Linked DNA regions of Homo sapiens: region 1 is linked to region 2. Evidence: promoter capture Hi-C in human tissues and cell types (Jung and others, 2019). All regions are on one chromosome and are shown on one strand. Each heading gives the region's core, a stretch centred on a gene start or on the middle of the fragment in contact. The rest is flanking DNA. Distances are from core to core; before and after follow the strand shown. Region 1 overlaps GOLGA8B (golgin A8 family member B). Region 2 holds the start of AVEN (apoptosis and caspase activation inhibitor).

Region 1 (7,227 bases), core at 156-2,655, 540 kb after region 2:
CCCTTCTGCCGAGAGGGCTCTTCTGGCCTGGGCTCTGAAGGGGCAAACCCACCCACTCTTCTAGGATGGGGTCCATGATCCACCCCAACCTACCGTGGGGCTCTCACATCTTCCAGATTGTGCCTCTCTAGGAGGGCCTTGGACCCAGAGCCAGAATGGGGCTCTGATGCCATTGCACATTCTCCAGCAACCCCTTCCATGCCCTCCCTCCTGATCCCACCCAGCTCTAAACTGGGAACAAGAAAGCTGGAATATAGTAGCTGCTTGGAAAATACCTACTGAGTGCATGGGTGGATAGATGGACAGTGCTCCAGGCAAAGGGACTCGGGGGTAAGAAAAGTGAAGGGTACCTGCTCCCGGTTGTACCACTGCAGAGTCCCTGAGTGTCAAAGGACTGAGAGGTGAATGACGGGACGGGCAAGGTGAGACCTACCAGGTTAGCGTCCCGCACCCCTTTGTTTCCACTATTAGATTAAGCCACCCTATGTGATGGATAAAAGGAGCAACACATACAAGGAGTTAGGCCAGGGTTGCCAAAGTGAGGGGTGGGAATGCTGCCAGTCCAGGGGTCCCCCACGGCAGCTCCCCAAATGAAGTCAAGACAAGTTGGAGATGAGGCTGCCTCTAGGTGTATCAAATCAACTGAAGTAGCACCAGTCCTCAGTGCTGATTAAGCACAGGCACGCCTGTGATCAAGAAGAAAACCATTACTTAATAAAATGCAATTAATTTAGAAGCTGAAAACTGCGAAAGCCCAAGGGAAAGACACAATCAGGAGTTCTTGGTCTGGAGGGGCTTCTGCTCTCAAAGCTTCCAACCCAACACAGCACAAAGACGTCTTCCCCAACAACCACACATCCCACCTGCAAAACGATGACATGCTCCTCTCCAGGTACCTGAACCTTAGGACTCAAAGGGTAGAGAAAGTTCACAGGCAGAATCTTCACAATACATGCACAAAAGAAAGGCACTTCTAGTAGGAGCTGTGGGTCAGGAAAACCTCGATTTCACCCAATGCCATTCCCGAGAGAATCAACCATCAATGTGACCCATTCAGTCCTGCCTCAGGGGCTCAGAATCTAGCAGTCAGGCCAGGTGGGAAGTGCAGGGACCTGTGGCCAAAATCGGTCCATTCATCACTCAGCTGACAGCTTTCACGCGTACCAGCCAGAATCAGTTAGAGGCTGGAGGTAGTGCCAAGTGTCTGAAACCCAGCAGGCAGGTTGGTAAAACACTCACACATCCTAACCCTGGTGACTGCACTGACTGACTGCTTTCCTGTAGCAGAACAGTTGCACACATCTCATCTCCTCCATCCATAATAACTCAGTGGCTGGTGAGGAATGGGACACAGACCTCCACGTGCCCTTCTTGGGATGAGTCAAGACAAACTCTGAGCAGTGACGCTCTACAGCTGGCTCACACGTGCAGGCAGAGCCTGGCTTCCCAGAGCTTCCAGTTCCTAACACATGCCTGGCCCCACTGCACCACACCCGTGACAGCTGCCACCAGCTCCGGATAATTCAGACAGATGCTAGAGCACATGGCTCACTTATTACACCAAAAGACTGAGAAACAGAAACTGTGTTTTAATTGCACAATGCACACACTTGCTTCCAGAGAGACCTGAGAAATCCATCATCCCTAAATGCATGCGGTTACTCAACTAGTGGCTTTACTATTTTTGAAACAATAGATTTTTCCAAGACAGCTGATAATCAAACCAACTGCGGGAAACCATAAACGATACTTGTTTATTAAATTAAGAACACATACAACAGTTCAGAGGAATCCATATTTAGAGCTGCCTTGCTGGAGAATCAATTCCAGGAATGCCAAACCAACCAAATGAAAAAAATTATATATCATACACACACACACACACACACACACACACACACACACACACACACACACACACAGATGCGTCACTTAATGACAGGGATGTATTCTGAGAAATTTATCATTAGGCAATTTCATCATTATGAGAACATCATAGAGCATACATTATACAAACCTACTACAACACACTAGGTTATAGGGTACAGCCTACTGCTCCTAGGCTGCAAACCTAGGCAGCATGTTACTGTGCTGAAGGTGTGTATCTAAACATAGAAAAGGCACAAAGTTAAAATATGCTATAAAAGATAAAACATGGTGCCCCTGTCTAGGGCACTTTCTATGAATGGACCTTCCATGAATGGAAGTTGCTCCGGTGAGTCAGTCTGTACACTAGTGCAGACTTTATAAACATTGTACAGTTAGGCTACATTTTTTTAAAAAATAAAGTAACTGCACTACAACTTTACGACAATGTCACTAGGCAATAGGAATTTTTGAGCCCCATGATATTCTTATGGGACCTCTGTCATATACGCTATCACTCACAAAAACAATGTCATGTGATGCATGACAGTACATATGTATCTCAACTGAAAATCCTAAATGTCAGTAGTGTTCTCTGACTCACTATTTACTAGTAAGTTTCCTCAGAACTGTCTTTGCCTGAGAGTTTCACAACCAAGCGTCTCTCTGCACAGTTGATTCTAGGGACAAGAAGTGCTAAGAATCCATGTTGGCTTCAAGTGCAAAATGGAAAACACCTTAGTGTCCCACCAACCATGTTAGCCACCTTCCTGGAGGGCAAGCTCCCACGCCCTTTCCCCATCGCTGTGAAGAGCTCACGTCATCTGTGGCATTTCCATAACTCTCCGATGCCAGCCATCAGTCTCTCAGCACGTGTTGAAAATTAGCCCCTGTACTTGCCCACCAATGGTCATAAGTCCTAGTCATGCCCACCCCGTTAAAAACAAATCTGATACAAAATGGGCCCCAGCAGGAGACAGAGAGAAAACATGGGCCTCACACTCTCTCCAGCTCAGGCTCAAAGGCCAGCACTGCCCCGTCACAGCAGAGTGCTCTTAGGCAACCCATAGCTCAGCTACCTGTCCCCAGCCTCCTCGTCGCGAAGTTAAGACAAGACCTGCCTTCTGGATTTGTAGGGAAATTATTTAAAATGACAAACAAAGAGGGATGGAACTCAACACACAGAATTGCCCGATGATGCGTGTTTCATTCCAGTGGTTTCGCCATGAAAACCATCTTTAAATGTTGGAGTGTTTCCGTTTCCAGACAACTAGAGATGAAAATATTTCCACAGTCACTCAACGCAGGTATCTCAACCACATATTTTTTTCTCTTAATTTTGATCCTTGAAACACAAAACAACAGATGCACCACCTTACATTAAAACAGCCCTTTAGAGTTTATGACAGGCCTCCTCTGCATTCTCTCACTAGGCCGTAGCTGTAACTCACAAACCTGACCCTTAAAACTCCCAGGACAATAAGAGAAGCCACACCATGGAGTCCTTGCTATCATAAAATATCTCGCATCAGTTCAATATCGCATCTCGTCTGTGCCTCAAAACAACCACAGGCAAGAGGCCTCATGCGCACATTGCAGATGCTGAGAAAGACTCTCAAGCCAGAAGACTGGCCCTGGACCCCAGGGTTTAGTGGCAGGGCCAGGCTGGAACTGAGCTCCTGTTACTCCAAATCCCATCCTCTTTTCTGACCTCCCAGTCCCTTTCTCATAAAACCAAAGCATCTTCTCCAACCAGGCCAGGACACACGCAGGAGAGAGTCAAGCAGGAGGAGGCTTCTGGAAGGGAAAGCAGAGTGGCTGAGAGCCCTGGAACAGAGTCTGACATTAGGTACAAGACAAGTTTGGAAAGATCCAGATGGAGTGGGAAGGGAATCTGGGCGTGGGGGTGCCTCCTTCCAAAGTGCATCCACATCCGAGGTGACTGCAGGGAGACGCAGCGCTGACTTTGGCAGCAGGGACCACCTGGGTGCAGAGAACCCAAACAACTGAAAATCCAAAAAGGAATCTCAGTGCACAATAAGAAAGCTCATTCTTTGGGCTGGTTACCTTCCCAAACACGTTCTCCTCTGGCCTATGTGAAACTGACGTTGCACAGTACAACTCTGCAGCTCTTTCCTGACTGCCCACTGAGTAAGGGTCTGTGCTACATTCTAGGAGGATCCAAAGGTGAACACAGCTGGGTTCCAGCTCTGGGACTCGGGAAAAGGAGGCACAGGGAGCAGGACATGTGCTGCAAGGAGACTACTGCTCCCGTGTTTCATTCACTCACTCATCCAACAACAGCACTAAGGCTCTGCTGTGTGCCAGGCACTTTTCTAGCTACTGGGGATCCAGAGGTGAACAAAGTCTTTTACATTTGAGTGATAAGAGACTGACAATAAACAAACAAGTACATAAATAACACACTGAATGTTGAGTACTAAGGAGAAACACAAAGCAAGGTTAACAAGAGAAGGGGAAGTAACGCTAATTTATGCAGGGCCATCAGGGAGCCGGCAATAGGTGAGGGGCTGGCCAGGTGGGCATCTGGGGGTGGCTGATGCCAAGGGGGTGGGAACAGCAGGTGCAAAGGCCTGGAGGCAAGAGTGGCCTGGCAAATCCGAGGACCAAGGGATAAGACGAAAGAGCCTACATTCAGTTAGGATCTCCGGGATGGACATGGGCCAAGATGACAGGTGGGGATGGGGTGGGGACAACCCAGGGCAGATCTGGGCAATGAGCCTGTCTGCCTGGAGCCAGGAGAGCCTGGAGGGACCATTCTTGGGAGCGAGTGGGAGAATTTGAGAAAAATCAGGCCGAGACACATGGATGTGGAGGGAGCACTGGAAAGCCACTGAAGGCCTGGGCAATGGTGTGTCACCATTGGGCCTGGGCCAACTTGCACAGCCCAACCTGGGAAACCTCACAGCCGGCACAGAAATCATAAAGCACACAGCAATGGCACCCCACCAGTACGCAGGGTTCCAGAGAGAGCCTGGCTGCACGACCTTGAGGTCACCTAACTCCCGGGCCTCCCTTGTGTGTCTGGACAGGGAGAGAGGGGAGGATTGGCTTCAGGAGAGGCGAGAAGCGACAGTGCCCATGACAGCTGACTCAGCCTGTGCCAGCAGGCTGCTCTGAGACATGAGCTGGACCCAACCCAGGCGGTGGGCAGCAGAGGGGTGGGGAGGAACTCTGGGAAAGGAAAGAGCCGGAGAAGCCTCTCTGTGGGCGCTCAGGCCAACCACCATCCAAGGGAACATTGAGCACCCCCAGCCCCTGCCAGGCACACAGGCTGCCTCCTGGTGAGCAACCATCTCAAACTTGACCTACACTGCAGAGGCCTGCCTGGTCATCAGTGGCTACCTTACACCCTACCTGTGTCTCCATGTTCCTAGTCCTCACGGCCACCTGGCAAGGGTGAGGAACTGAGACTGGGTTGAGGACACACAGCCTGTGAGTGGTACAGCCAGGGCCGCCACCCAGGCCCAGAGCTCTCTCCGTTTCTCTAAGGACCAGGCTGAAACGCAGGGCATGTGATCTCTGCCGAAGACATTGAAGCCACCCAGTGATGTGTGCAGGGCCTCGATCCCCACCGACCGCCAGTCCTGTCCTCCCCTGGACAGTAAAGGTTTCTCCAAGACTTCAGACCATGGTGTCACCTGAGGCCCACACCTGTTAAGTCACTGGGGCAGGTATGCGTGGCAGAGGACAGCGAGGAGTGCCGGAGAGGAGCTGAGGCCTGGAGGGGGCCTCTTCAGCCAGGTTCAACCCCCACTCTCCCCACTCCAACAGCCCTCACTGCAGCCACCGCGGCCCAATCCAAACAAAGCCCAGCCTTATGCCAACCTCACTATCAACTGTTTTTCCTCTGACTTCCTCAGTTTTGTCTGGGAAAAATCAAGGTGTCTTATCCCATCTCTAAGCTTCCAGGGGTGTGATCAGTGTCTTTTACAATTACCTTTTACTTTTATCCAGCATTTCTTAGCTCAGTTGGCAAACTGGATATTTATGCAGCTCCATTTCACAATCCATCCCCACCAATTATTCCTGTGAAACTAACATTTTGATTTTTTTTTTTTTAAAGGTTAGAGCTACTTAAGAAGGTTATGTAAACAAGTTAACCAGCAGGCCACAACTTGGGTCTGGGGTGTCAGAGAAAACATGCAAGGTGGAAGAGAATGAGGAGCTGACGGTCACCAGCTTTACCTCCTTCCAGCACCCACTCCTGCTCACACACACTCACACTCCGTGGGACTCAGCCTGCAGCTTCTCCCAGCCCAAGAGCCAGACAGTGGGGACGGGCACAGACCGCACTTCCTAACAAATGAGAGGGAAGACTTGGTGCCCCATTGCTACTGCCATCACCCAGTCCCAGCCCAGCCAGGGAGCCCACTCCAAGGGCCCCCCAACAGTACTGCTAGAGCCCACCGAGGGCTGCCGGCACACAGCTGCAAGGTCCAGCTTTATCTGCTCACGCCCTGGACACTGCCCGGAGCCCCAGCAAGTTCCACGTGTCCTTAACACCCCAGCCCTCCTGCCCCGCAGTTCCTAAGCTCAGGAGACCCTCTCCAGCCCAGGCTGAAGGGGGAGGCAGCCCCCACGGTCACCCAGGAATCAGCGCAGAGTGCAGGGCATCCTGGACTCCCCGGACTGGGAAACCCAGTTCCTGTCCCCCTGCGTAGTGGCCACACCTCTGGGAGGGGAGAAACCCCTGCCTCACCTCACTGGAGGGACCCTGACCCAGAGGCCTGAGAAAAAGCCACCTGCAGGCTCCTGGCAACTGCCAACCTGAACCTTAGGAAAACTTGTCCCACTTCAACCTGCAAAGCTCTCAGATCATTATTTCTAAAACCACTGTCCTTTCTCAACGAGGAAGAAAATAGAAACAAACAAACAAAAGCAGAAAGAGGCACAGGAGGTTGAAGAGGCCAGAGGCAGTTTAGCCCAAAAACAAAGTGCCAGACGCAAGATGCGAAGTTTGGGGCGCTTCATCCACCGCATGCCCGTTTAAGAGCTGACTGCACTCAACCACAGATTTACGTCTGGTGCCTGCCAGGTCGTATCTCAAGAGATCTGAAAAAATAAGCCTTTCTTCTGCCAATAAATACTAAGACTAGCAGGCCCCTCTAAGGCTCTGCTCTCCACTGGGGTACCGCAGGACAGGCCCCTCGGCGGGCGTTCCCCGCACCCTCCCTCCGCGTCGGCCCCGGGGAAAGGAAGTTCACCCCTCGCCTGGGCTTACCAATGCCCGCCGCCCGACCCATGGAGCCCTGCTTGGGGACTGGGGGCCTCGATGTTCTCCTTCACCATCTGCGGCCAGATCTCCCTCCAGCAGCCTTGCCAGGCAGTGCCTGGCCT
Region 2 (6,678 bases), core at 3,756-6,255:
TTGGGTGGCTGAGGCGGGAGGACTGCTTGAGCCCAGGAGTTTGAGACCAGCCTGGGCAAGACAGTGAGACCATGTCTACAAAATATAAAAATATTAGTTGGGTATGGTGGTTCACGCCTGTACTCCCACCTACTCAGGAGGCTGAGATGGGAGGATCCCTTGAGTACAGCAGTTGAAGGCAGCAGTGAGCTTTGCTCACACTACTGCACTCCAGCGTGAGCAACAAAGTGAGACCCAGTTTCTTTTTTAAAAAAAAAAAAAAAGGAAAAGAAAAAATCAATTTATAAAAATTGTGTTTTTATTTAAAAAGTCAATATATACAATATGTTGGAAATTTTATATTTTGAAATTCTCTGATCCATTGATAAAAATGTTAGATATAAACTTTAAAGTACATTGTACATGGTTTCCCAAAATTTTTTTAGGCAGAATACAAGCAAAAAAGTTCAGTTGTCTGTGTTGATATTGAAAATATGTAAGTGAAATAGTGGTCAGTGAGAAAAGCAACTTAAAAACAGAATATGTTAACAAGGATAAGGATGCCAAAATAATTACAGTGTGTGTGCAATGGTTTGCAGCAGGAGGAGAGGTCAATTTCATGGATTACCAAGAACTAATCTTAAAGCAATCTTCTGTTGGGACACTTAAGCACATTCAGTTTCTAACCAAATTTGCTTCAGGCTTTCTGGAAAAAAAGGAAAATAAAGTCTAGAGGCTGTCATTTCAGTTTGAGCTTTTAACAGGCTCTCAGTCTCTAGCTGGCTGACAAGCGGCTGGTGGCTACTCTGAGCAACAATGAAGGAGCAAGTCCTTAGACACCTGCCTGTAACTGATCTGACACCATTTCTTCCCTCCAGGTTCACACTAAACTTGAATAGAAAATTAGAGATTTCCTTTTTACCCAGTGAAATGAAAATGTCAACGCCATCGGGTATTAATTACTACTCAGGCTTTGTTTACAAAGCAAAAGTTTGATCAGAATTAAATGCCTCCAGATTCTACTTTTTAGTACAACTATAAACAGCTGTCTCATCTTTTATTGAATATAAATCATTTTAAAAGGAATATGAAAAGCTGCAATATAAACATGGAGCAAGAAAGCAAAGGTCTGGTAACACCCACAATAACTGAAGATGGTACCAATGTTACCTTAAAACCTTATAACCATACTAACATATCAGTTAAAAAAATAATCAGGCATGTGAAAGAATCACTCAACAGTCCTCCACACACCCCTTTTTCAAATCTCAAAGTCATTCCAGGAGCAGTTTAGAGCAGCAGTCGAAAGAACAGGCTCTGGAGTGAAAATGCTGGGGTGGAATCCAGGCTCAGCAATTTTCTGGTTGAGTGATATTAAAAAGTTATTTCACCTCTCCTAACTGTGAGTTATTTAACGGTGCCTCAGCTGTCTCATCTTATATTAAGTACTCGACAAATGTGAATTACTGTTATTACTAGAGGAAGGAAAAAAGAAAAAAAATTCCAAAGACTACCAGCTGGCCTTGTCTTCCTCTCTGCTAACAGCCCATCACAAAGATAAATACTAAACAATCCTAGTATTGGGGGCAGTGATAGGGGGATTATTTATTCATTTAGTTAGTAAGTTAGTTATTTGAGACAGAGTCTCACTCTATTGCCCAGGCTGGAGTGCAGTGGCAGGATCACAGCTCACTGCAGCCTCCACCTCCGGGGCTCAAAACAATCCGGCTGCTTCAGCCTCCCTTGTAGCAGGGACTACAGATGCACCCCGCCATGCTCGGCAGTTTTGTATTTTTTTTATAGAGAGGGGGTCTCGTTATGTTGCCCAGTCTGGTCTCGAACTCCCAGACTCAAGTGACCCACCCACCTCAGCCTCCCAAAGTGCTGGGATTACAAGCGCGAGCCACCACACCCAGCCAGTTTTGTGTTTTTTTTTTAAAGTTAATGATTGTATCTAGTACAATAATGCTTCTAGTGAGTATTCCGTGAAGATAATTATGCTCACCCATAATCAGTAAGCTTAGAGCTCAGACCATTTACAGAAGGAATGATTTAAGAGCAAGAGACTAAGAGATGTACTCAACTTAGTACTCAACTAAGTTACCCTGGAGTATTACATAGCTATGTAGAAGTTGGTTAGATTGATTTTGTTTTCCATTTGTATGCAGTGGTCCAAAATAGAAAGCAAAGGTGTACACAAAATTGGTTTCTGAAGGTGGACAACTGGTCTTTACATGGCTAGGAGTCTATTATGATTTTTTTTTCCTTTGATCATTTCGGTTACTCTCTCCTTGGGGCACAAATGCACCATGGGATATGAGAACAAGAAGGCTTCAGGAAAGTCAATCAATCTTGTCTCATGTAATGGTTAAGCACCAAAAATGGTGTCCTAGCAAGACTAAATACAAACAGTACTTCAGAATCTGAGAAATGGAAGGAACTTAGAGATGACCAATCCAAACCAAAATTAAGGAACAATCTGCCCAACATCCCTCCCTCCAGCTTTGGCTGAAAACATGATGATGAAGGGATAAGACCAACTCGACAAAAGAAAAAGCCTAAAATTTTAACAGAATGTGTTACAATACTATCTTAAATTTTTTAAAGTCTTGTATTATTCTTTCTTTTAATGATATACCATCATGACCAGGCGCAGTGGGTCACACCTGTAATCCATATCCCAGCACCTTGGGAGGCCGAGGCGGGTGGATCACCTGAGGTCAGGAGTTCGAGACCAGCCTGACCAACATGGTGAAACCCCATCTCTATTAAAAATACAAAATTAGCCGGGCAAGGTGGCTCATGCCTGTAATCCCAGCTACTTGGGAGGCTGAGGCAGGAGAATCACTTGAACCCGGGAGGCGGAGGTTGCAGCAAGCCAAGATCATGCCATTGCACTCCAGCCTGGGCAACAAGAGTAAAACTCCGTCTCAAAAAAAAAAAAAAAATATATACCATCATTTCACCCAATTTAATTCAACAGAGATTAACAAAACAGAAGCACCTTCACTCACTCAATTCAACTTAAAGACACTTATTAGTAAAGTCCTGTGCGCCAGACACCATAGTTAACACCAAATGTACCATTACTACAATTACTCTTAAAGCACGATCCCTGCAGCTAAGGAATATCTACTTTGTTCTCAATAAAGTGGTAACTGGTTCACGAAAAAGTAAGAGATAAAATACTGTTGACTCAAGGGCAGCTTGATATAAATCCCAGCTCTGCCACTAGCTGTGAAAGCTTAGGCAAGTCAGTTAACCTGTAAAAATAAAGATTACTCTCTATATATGGATATATAAATAATATATAACATTGTAGTTAATATATAATTACATACTATTATATTACATAATTCTACATTACATATATATTATATATATATAATAGAGTTATAAGAACAAAATGTGATATATAGTGGGCACTAGGTTGGTCTTAGTTTCTGTCATTTACCTTAGTTTCTGTCAGTTTACACGAGGTAAACTGACCCTAAAAATGTTTTTATATCTCATTCAAGTTTTGCCTATTACCTATCTTAATCCTAACAAGATTTAAGTTTGTTACATTTAAATTTAAGTTTTATACTTTTTTTTCCAGCTCTGTATTGCTGTATACAACTACTCTCTTTAGGGATATCTTATCTGCTATGCCCTCAAGATATTGTAAATACTTCAGTAAGAGCAAATTTTGCCTCATGCAAAAAAGAATTTTTTAAATCAGTGTGCATAAGAATGCAGAATATAAAGATGGTCTTGTCCTACAGATGTTAAGGTAACAGAACAACTCATAAAAAGACAGTCCTCTAACTCCTTTAGCTGAGATATGGTTAGCTTTGCCCCCATATATATCATCCCCTGCTCCAATCTCCAAAAACTTCCTTCTATGAATGTGTCAATAAGACTGATGATATTGCTATTAAAACTCAGAACTTGACTGCTCATTTATAAATTGAAAATTCAAAACGACAAAGCCCAGTGCTCGCTGATTTCTACACATACAGGCATAATAAAAGAGAACTACGCTATTACAAAGAACTATGCATCTGGTCCCGCCCCCAAATACTAGAGTCCAGTCGTAGGGGTCATTCTTTCACTCAACAAACTTTTTATTATGCGCCTACTGTGTACTAGGCATTGCACAGACAGTTAACAAAACAGACCAAAAAATCCTTTCCCTCCTAATAACAGGAGCGTGCCCGTAAAGGCTGCCGAGGGACCACGTCGTGGCCGCGCCTCCGTCCCATAGTGGTACTCGTACAGACAGCCCAGCCGGCCCACGGGCCGCCGAGACTTGCAGCCCTGACACACGGCCTTGGCCTCTGGGTTCCTAACCCGGACCCTGGGGCAGGCTGGGAAGCCCTCCTACCCCCACTGTCTCGCGCCAGCCCGGCCAGGAGGCCACGAGGGCCAAGCGCATACCCAGGCGCGCCCCCGCCACCAGGCGCGCCCCCGCGCCACCATCCGCCCGTCCCGCGCAGGCGCCGGCGCCGCCGCCCGTCTGGCGCGCGCCTGGCACGCTCTCTTGCGGCTCTTGACTGGCGGCCTCGGCCCCACTTGCCCCAGTTACACGCGGTCCCAGCCCCACCAGCCGTCGCCTCTTACCGGCGCGCTGGCCCCTGCGCCCCAGCCTCCCGGCTCCCGGCGGCTGCCTCGCGGGGCGCCTCCTCCTCCTCGGCCTCCGCGAGCGCCGCGGAAGCCCCGGCCACGGCCACGGCCCCGGCGTCCGCCTCCGTCCCCGCCGCCGCCTCCGCCGCCGCCTCTGGCTACCGCCGCTGCGGCTCCGGGCCGCTCGCTGTGGCGATCTCCGCCAGGCCGGCCGCGGCCTGGCCGCCGCCCACGGCCTCCCCGAGCTCCTCGCTCCGCCTGCATCTGGCCGCCGCTGGCGGTGCTGAGCGCGCGGGAGCCGAGCTGCGGCGGAGACGCCCTGGCCCCACCGGAAGCGGGCCGCACGGAGGAGCCGCGAGCGAAAGGCGCCCGGTAGCAGCGAGGCGCGGGGTGCGGGGCTAGGGATCGAGGCCGGCCGCAGCGGAGCGGGGCGGGGCGGGGCGGCCGGCGTCCCGCAGGTGGGGCCGGAACCGGGACCGCGGGAAGGCCGGACCGCTGGGAGCTGGAAGTGGTGGGGGTCTGCAGCGGGGCGGGGGGATTCTCAAGGCATCAGAGATAGGTTGGGGGAGAGACCGTGCTAAGTGCAAGGACGAGTCATAAAATAAAATTTGTATGATGTGAACTCTCGGAAAAAAAAAGTTTAAACGTATGTATTTGCATAAGAAAAGGTCTAAACAAATACATACTAAAATGTTAGTGGTTAACTGCTGAGATTTGAAGTGAGTTAATTTTTTTTCCTCCGTTTAATCTAATTTTCAGCAACGAATGTGTATCATTTTAAAACTATACCGAAGTCAGGGTTCAGGAGGTGTGGATGTAAAGACAAGAGTTTGTGTCTGGTGAGAGGTGGACTGCAGCACGTGGGAGAGAGAACAGTGCGAAACTGGGAGATGGCTAGAAAGGGCGTCAAAGTCCTCAGCAGAATTTCTGTAGAAATGACTACTACAGCTGACATTTATTGAGCACATGAGTATTTCATTCTCATAACAGCTCTATGAGGTAGGGATGACTGTCATCCTTATTCTGCAGTGAGGTAACAGCCTTGGAAAGGTTAAAAAAAACTTGACTAAAGTGAATAACTAGGTAGTGGTGGAACTGGCATTCTAAGGCGGTCTCACTCCAGTCCCTTCTTTCAACCAAGGAGAAAACAGGAAGGGGAACAGTTGGTTACACAGATGCATGAAAGCAGTTTTTAACTTGGGACTGAAACCACCTGAAAATAATGAAAGCAAGGGCTAAAATGTCAGCCTAGCAGAATAAGTGTTTTCTTCCCCCTCAGTACTTTCTGGTTCTTTCCTATATCCATACATAGTTAATACTTTTCATTGCTTCTAATTGCCTACTCTGCATCAGGCACAGTGCTATGTCCTGAAATTAAAAACAAAAACAAAAAAAAAACCTTGCCCCTGCCCTCAAGTAGCTCACTGCCCACAAGGAAGATAATCTAGTCGTGTGAATAGATGATTACAGTACCGTGTTGCTGAGTGCAGTGAGAGATTCAAGATCAAGGTCCAAAGAAGAAAAGTTAAATTATATTTAAACGGGTTACCCAAGGCTTCATGAGAAATAGACCCCTGAGCTAAAGCCTAATGGTTGAGTAGGAGTTTGCCTGGTTGGTAAATGGGAGTAGGGGCGCCTTCCAGACAGGGGGAACTATTGAAGGATTGTCAACTCCAGAGAAACAGTCTTAAAAATAGTAACACTTGTAGAGCACTTATATGCACCAAACACTATTCTACATACTTCTCATATCACTTCATTTGGGACTAATAGCTGGCCTACGAGGTAAGCTAGTGTTGTCTCCATTTTACAGATCAGGAATCTAAAACAGATGTTAAGTAACTTCCAAGATTACACAGTTACAGGCCAGGTGTGTGGTTCGTGCCTGTAATCCCAGCATTTTGGGAGGCTGTGGCGGGTGGATTGCCTGAGACATGAGTTCAAGATCAGCCTGGGCAACATGGTGAAACCCCATTTCTACAAAAATTAGCTGGGCATGGTGGTATATGCCTATAGTCCCACTACTTGGGAGGCTAAGATAGAGAATCATTTGAGCCCAGGAGGTTGAGGCTGTAGTGAGCTGTGATTGTACAT

What was found. The method cuts DNA at HindIII sites, captures the fragments that hold promoters and counts their contacts. A contact is called where the count stands out against the background at its distance.
Region 1: a contact is called between a fragment that was not itself captured here and the fragment with the promoter of AVEN in region 2, in 2 of the 25 tissues and cell types used here (lymphoblastoid cells and spleen).

The regions. Positions count from the first base shown.
Region 1 is chr15:34,575,639-34,582,865 of GRCh38, forward strand. All of the region lies in intron 1 of GOLGA8B (golgin A8 family member B), which reads right to left. Among named protein-coding and RNA genes, the nearest start is that of GOLGA8B, 4.4 kb to the right of the region's middle. The HindIII fragment of the contact is 3,792 bases long and covers 1-3,301 here.
Region 2 is chr15:34,034,199-34,040,876 of GRCh38, forward strand. It overlaps AVEN (apoptosis and caspase activation inhibitor), which reads right to left and starts at 5,006. Exons shown (of 6, transcript NM_020371.3): 1 at 4,582-5,006. The coding sequence starts at 4,848. All of the region lies in intron 1 of CHRM5 (cholinergic receptor muscarinic 5), which reads left to right. RefSeq lists silencers at 3,979-4,038, 4,389-4,448, 4,539-4,748, 4,929-5,098. The HindIII fragment of the contact is 11,161 bases long and covers 2,611-6,678 here.